Regions from separate parts of the Homo sapiens genome. Here region 2 is linked to region 1. Evidence: promoter capture Hi-C in 16 types of primary human blood cells and fetal thymus (Javierre and others, 2016). All regions are on one chromosome and are shown on one strand. Each heading gives the region's core, a stretch centred on a gene start or on the middle of the fragment in contact. The rest is flanking DNA. Distances are from core to core; before and after follow the strand shown. Region 1 holds the start of CNOT1 (CCR4-NOT transcription complex subunit 1). Region 2 overlaps KATNB1 (katanin regulatory subunit B1).

Region 1 (2,700 bases), core at 5-2,504:
TGGGATTACAGGTGTGCGCCACCACGCCCGGCTAATTTTTTGTATCTTAGTAGAGATGGGGTTTCACCGTGTTAGCCAGGATGGTCTCGATCACCTGACGTCGTGATCCACCCGCCTCAGCCTCCCAAAGAGCTGGTATTACAAGCGTGAGCCACCGCGCCCGGCCTTAATTTCAAAAGGTAATAGAGCTAACCAGTCAACACTTCCTTCCCAATCCTTTCTCTTTTGGGTACAGGTGAGTATAAAATCTTACCAACTATCATAGTTAACAAACAAACCATAGCAAAATATGTTTCTATGCTTTTTCTCTTGAGAGCAAAGGACATGGGTATCCTTTCTTAGACGGCTTCTAGGACTTAAGCCAGGAAGAGAACTTGCGTCTCCTACGTCTCTGGAAGGCGTCTCTGGAAGGTGTCCCTTCTTCAATAGACAGAACTAAAACAGAAAGTTCCCTTGACCAAAGCGAAGCAAGCGAGGACAAGGTGGCCACCTGGGTGACTACAACCCCCAGCATGCACTGCTCCTTCTAGGGCGCAGCGACGAACGAAGACGCATTACTTCTGCGATGGGAACGGGGTAGAGGAGCGCGACTACACATCCCAGGATGCAAAGCGCCCCAACTCTAGTCACAACCTGGCTTGCTTTCTGGCTGGCGTTCCCCGCCAAAGGGACACTAGGGGAGGGGATTGTTTCGGTTGGGAATCCCCGAAGTCTACTGGACCGTGACATTTCGAAAGAGGAAGGAAAGTGGAGGAAAGCTGTTTCACTGTAATTCAAAGTAGTTCCCGCGCAGGGTGGCGAGGAGTTATGGGCCCCTTCCATAATTTATTGTTCCTCAAAGGCAATGCCAAGCCCCACTGGTCGCAGCCCTCCAGGGCAGGTGGGAAGTACGTGAAGCCCCAAATCGAAGTTATCAGCCTCTCCCTATTGGCCCTCGCCTCGAGCGCAGGCGCGAGGGCTCTGACTCCGGTCCCCTGGGCCTGGTGAGCGGCAATTGGCCAAAGTCCGCGAAGTAGGAGGCCGGATTGGTAGTTGCTAGCAGGAGCCTGATTTCTTCCTCGACTTCTGCAAGTGATAGAGTGTGATTGGTTTAAATCCGCGGGCACCTGTCGGTGATTGGGTAGAAGCCACAGGCGGGGCGCGGCCATTGGCTGGCTCTGGGGCCATCCCTCCTCGGGCGGGCAGCGAATGATGAAATGGGAACGGGGAGGGGAAAGGCCGCGACGTGAGCGCGCGACCTCCGGCGCCATTTTGTAGAGAAACAAGCGGAGTTAACCGAAGAGGGGGTCGAGGAGAGCCGGAGTCGGGGACCCAGGAGTTTCCTGTGTCCAGCGCTGCCGGAGCCGCCTGAGGTGAGGCGGGTTGGCGTCAGGGGCTAGGGTAGGGTGGCGGTGTCAGCTTGGGAACGCGAGAGCCGGTGGGAGGAGGAACAGGGGTGGACCTGGGGCCACTGGAAGCGTTTCCCGGAGCTCTAGGGAGTGAGAGGCAGCCGGGACGGGGAAGTGGGACGAGGCGGGAGAGGGCGGACTCTTCTCCACACGGCTCTCGGAGGCTTCGCGCTCTGAAGATGAGAGGCCAGCGAGAAGGCTCCAGGAAGCGGAGGGTAGAGCGCGGGGTGAGACCCATGGTGGTCTCTGTCCCGGGCCTGGAGGCTCAGGGGGCGGCAGCGGCGGCAGTTCGTGTCGCTGGGCCTGGCTTCGCGCGGGTTGCACCCCTCTGAGACCTCCACGACCTCCTTAACTACTGTTTCTGTCTCTGCTCCCTGATGGTTGCAGTGGGCATCGGCTTCCGAGGCCTAGGGCTTCTGGCGGGGGGGACCGTGTTTGGAGTTTTTGCATGTTTCCAGTTCTTCTCCGTGTACTCGGAGCTGCCACTCTCCCCGTCTTACGCCCCCAGCACGTTGTCAAAGCCCCCCAGGTTTCGGGTGTCCCCGGATGGGAAGGGCGGGCGGGAGCAAGCACTTCCTTATTACTTGCTACAGGTTTTGTTCCACTCGCGCGCCTGGGCGCTCACACTTTCTTTGAAGTTGGCCCCCACCTACTCGGTCCGGTGTCTGCAGTAGTGGCGGTCCTGCTCACCCAGGACAAGTGTCCCGCTAGTGAGCTGAGCACTTGTAGGCCTCAAGGCTGATAAGATCCACGGCAGGTCTTGTAGAGGTACTTAAGGCCAAACACAAATAATACTTTTTCAGTACCACCTCCTTTGCAGAATTCACCCAAGAGGGCTCACAGATACTAACTCCCCGAGGAGTAAGCTTTGTAGATTAAAAAAGAATGCTTGACATCTGTGCGTTTGAAAATGTTGTATTTAAAATAAACTTTATGACAAACTTTTCCCATGAAGTTAATCAAATGTCACATTTCTTAGGACTCTAATAAAGTCTGTTTTCTTCCTGAAAACTGAGTAACAATGCTTAACCTACCCTGCCGATTTCTCTACAATTCGATAGCCTGTGACTACTTGGGTTTTTTTTTTTTTTTAAGTCAGTGATTGAGTGAATATAATTATACTGTTTGAAACAATGCCGAACGTTTTCCTTATGACAGCCCCTTTGATAGGAATAGGGAATACATGGATTAAAAAAATGAGGGAAGGCAAGTAAAATATTAGGAGGAAGGTCAAACAGATTAAGAACAATTTTTTTCTATAGGTACTTGGGTTTAATACTTAAGTGATCTGTGGTCCCGGTTGGTATTCCTA
Region 2 (2,700 bases), core at 78-2,577, 890 kb after region 1:
TACTAGGTCACTTGTCCTCTGAGGGCCTGGCTCCTCGTCTGGAAAGTGGGGATGCCCGTGGTGTCTGCTCACACCTGATGCTGAGGACTCCCTCAGAGCGCGCCTACGTGCTGCTTAGTAGCAGGCGAGGGCTCCGTGACATTGGGCAGGCTCGGGGCTAGTCACCATGAGAGAGTGGGCATGGGGGCCTGGGCGGGCACCAGAGGGTGGGCTTCATGAGGAGGGGGCAGGAGGCAACAGACTGAGCAGCTGGGGTGGGGGTGAGGGCTGACCACACAGAGGAGGAGCCTGTGCAGACAGCCCAAGGCCCTGGCCTGGTCCGTGGAGATGGCAGACAGGAGCCTCGGAGGACTCCGCAGGGAGCAAAGCACAGGCAGGGAACCAAGAGGCGGCCCGGGCCTCAGAACCCATCCCTGCATGAGCTCCTCCTGGAAAGAAGGGAGAAAAAAGACAGTTCTCCCCACACAGGCCAGGGGAAAACCCCAAGGTGCTGACGCCCCGAGGCACCCGGAAGGCCAGCGTGGGTGACGCCAAGGAAAAGGGTGTTGGAGCCACGGCGCTCCACAGAGGCCCCTCCTGCACCCCAGCTCCGACTCCACCCTGCCTGGGTGTCTCTGCTGCGGGCTTCAGACCACAAGGAGGTTGGGAAACTGGGCCCAGGGAAGCTGCTTGCCAGAAACCTGGGCTCCAAGGGGCCACCAGGAATACCCAGGGGACAAGTCGCAGGCTGAATCTCACTGATGACACCCTGCCTCCTGGGCCGGTCGGGGCAGAGCCAGCACAGGCAGCAGCGCCAGCAAGGGCGAGGGTTCCCTGTGGGCCCAAACCTGGGCCAGGGCGCTGGGAGTTCGCCATGGGGATCCCAGGGAGCTGGGCCCCACTTTAGTCCCGTCTCGATGAGAGCCTTCTGTCCTCTGGACACTGTCGGGACAGAAACCTGAGGAATTCCAGCCACAGACGTGTCTGTTCAAGGTTTCCACCTGACCCAGAAAGAGGGCAAAGCACCTTCTCCCTGGCATTCCGTGCCCGAGCCTGGTGTCCTCTCCGTGGAGGCACTGCTCGCTCCCCCTGGCCTACCTGGAGGGCTCTGTCTGTCCCCTGGCCCTCACTCCTCCCAGGGAAAGTGTCTGGCTGGGCCCCACCTCACTGGGCCTCAGGACTGCTGCCCCTGGAGTCAGGGGCATTCATTCATAATATCAGTATTTCCTGGGTGCCTGTTCTAGGCCTTGCACGAAATATGCCCCAGTATAATCAGATGGTGGTGGGGGCGGGACACTGAGCTGGCAAAACCGCAGACTTTGGAGTGAGAAAGATTTAGAAGTTGGGCCCTTCTGGAGGAGCCCACATCACTCCCCTCTAAGCAGCCTGACCAGGGACTGACTGGAGCCCACAGAGGGAGGGCAGAGGGGCAGGGACACAGCACAGGCACCTGCAAAGGAGGCACGGGGCACCACCCCAAGAGCTCCTCCTTCATCCTGGCTTGTTGGACAGCAACCAACAGCCCAGGCCGAATACTTGATTTTCATACCAAAAATAAAAAATAAAAATCCTCAGTGTCTACTGGCAGGCCAAGCTCTGGGAGTACAACCTGGGCCCCACATCCAGCCAAAGCTGGGGAACATGGTGCGGCGTGGCCAGAGGGGCTGAGGATCAGCATCCCAAATGCAAGATACAAAGTACTAGGTTTCAACGACCTCATGTGGGCCACGCACCTCTGATCCTCACCAGACCCTGGAGCCACAAGGAGCCAGAGGTCACGTGGCCCTGGGCTCTTCAGAGTTGATTCCCACGGACACCACCGTGCACATGAAATCAGCAGCAGCAGCAGATGCCCAATACGCCTGATCTCATTACCTCCTGCTCGCACACACTGATGGCTTGGCCTTGCCTTTATGATAAAGCACGGCAGCCTCAGGAGGGCTGGGGTCCTGAGAACTCAGTAGGTCCGTGCGGCCCCACATTCCTCCTGCTGCTGTGCCACTGCCCATGGCCTCCCTTGAGTCCTTCCAATACACTGAGCCTCCTGCCTCAGGGCCTTTGCACTTGCTGTTCATGCAGCCTGCAGCATTCCCACCCCACCCCTACCCCTACCCCCCAGCTAACTGATTCAAAGCACAGGCACCAGCTTGCAACTAGAGGAGACACAGAGGGATACGGTTATCCAGTTCCTGCCTGTTGCTCTCCCCAGGCTCTGAGCTCCCGCTGTACAGAGACCTTGACTACTTTGTCCCCCAGTGGCTCCCCAGTGCCTAGCTCTGGGGAAAGGCCAGCTGTCGAAGGGATGAATACGTAATCCCAATAATTACAAAGCCACTCTGACCAAAGTGTGCCTTCCTTGGGGAACCATAACAGGGTTCTCCCAGAGCCCTAGAGTTTTGGGGAACAACATGAAAATGGCCCAAACCTCTCACTTTACAAACAAGGAAACAGAGGCCCTGCAAAGAGCTTTGCCCAGAGTCTTATGGTTAAATTCATGGTTAAAAAGTGTGGAGTCTTGGCCAGGCATGGTGGCTCATGCCTGTCATCCCAGCACTTTGGGAGGCTGAGGCACGTGGATCACCTGAGGTCAGGGGTTCGAGACGAGTCTGGCCAACATGGTGAAACCCCGTCTCTACTAAAAATACAAAAATTAGCCGGGTGTGGTGGCGGGTGCCTGTGATCCCAGCTACTCGGGAGGCTGAGGCACGAGAATCGCATGAA

What was found. Contacts are between HindIII fragments. The CHiCAGO score rates a contact against its expected background, and 5 or more counts as called.
Region 2: a fragment that was not itself captured here is called in contact with the fragment with the promoter of CNOT1 in region 1 in 1 of 17 cell types (non-activated CD4 T cells); the score reaches 8.1 in non-activated CD4 T cells.

The regions. Positions count from the first base shown.
Region 1 is chr16:58,628,380-58,631,079 of GRCh38, reverse strand. It overlaps CNOT1 (CCR4-NOT transcription complex subunit 1), which reads left to right and starts at 1,254. Exons shown (of 49, transcript NM_016284.5): 1 at 1,254-1,352. RefSeq lists enhancers at 387-876, 1,167-1,376, 825-1,500, 1,501-2,177. The HindIII fragment of the contact is 12,291 bases long and covers 1-2,256 here.
Region 2 is chr16:57,738,352-57,741,051 of GRCh38, reverse strand. All of the region lies in intron 2 of KATNB1 (katanin regulatory subunit B1), which reads right to left. Among named protein-coding and RNA genes, the nearest start is that of KATNB1, 3.9 kb to the right of the region's middle. The HindIII fragment of the contact is 6,249 bases long and covers 1-2,700 here.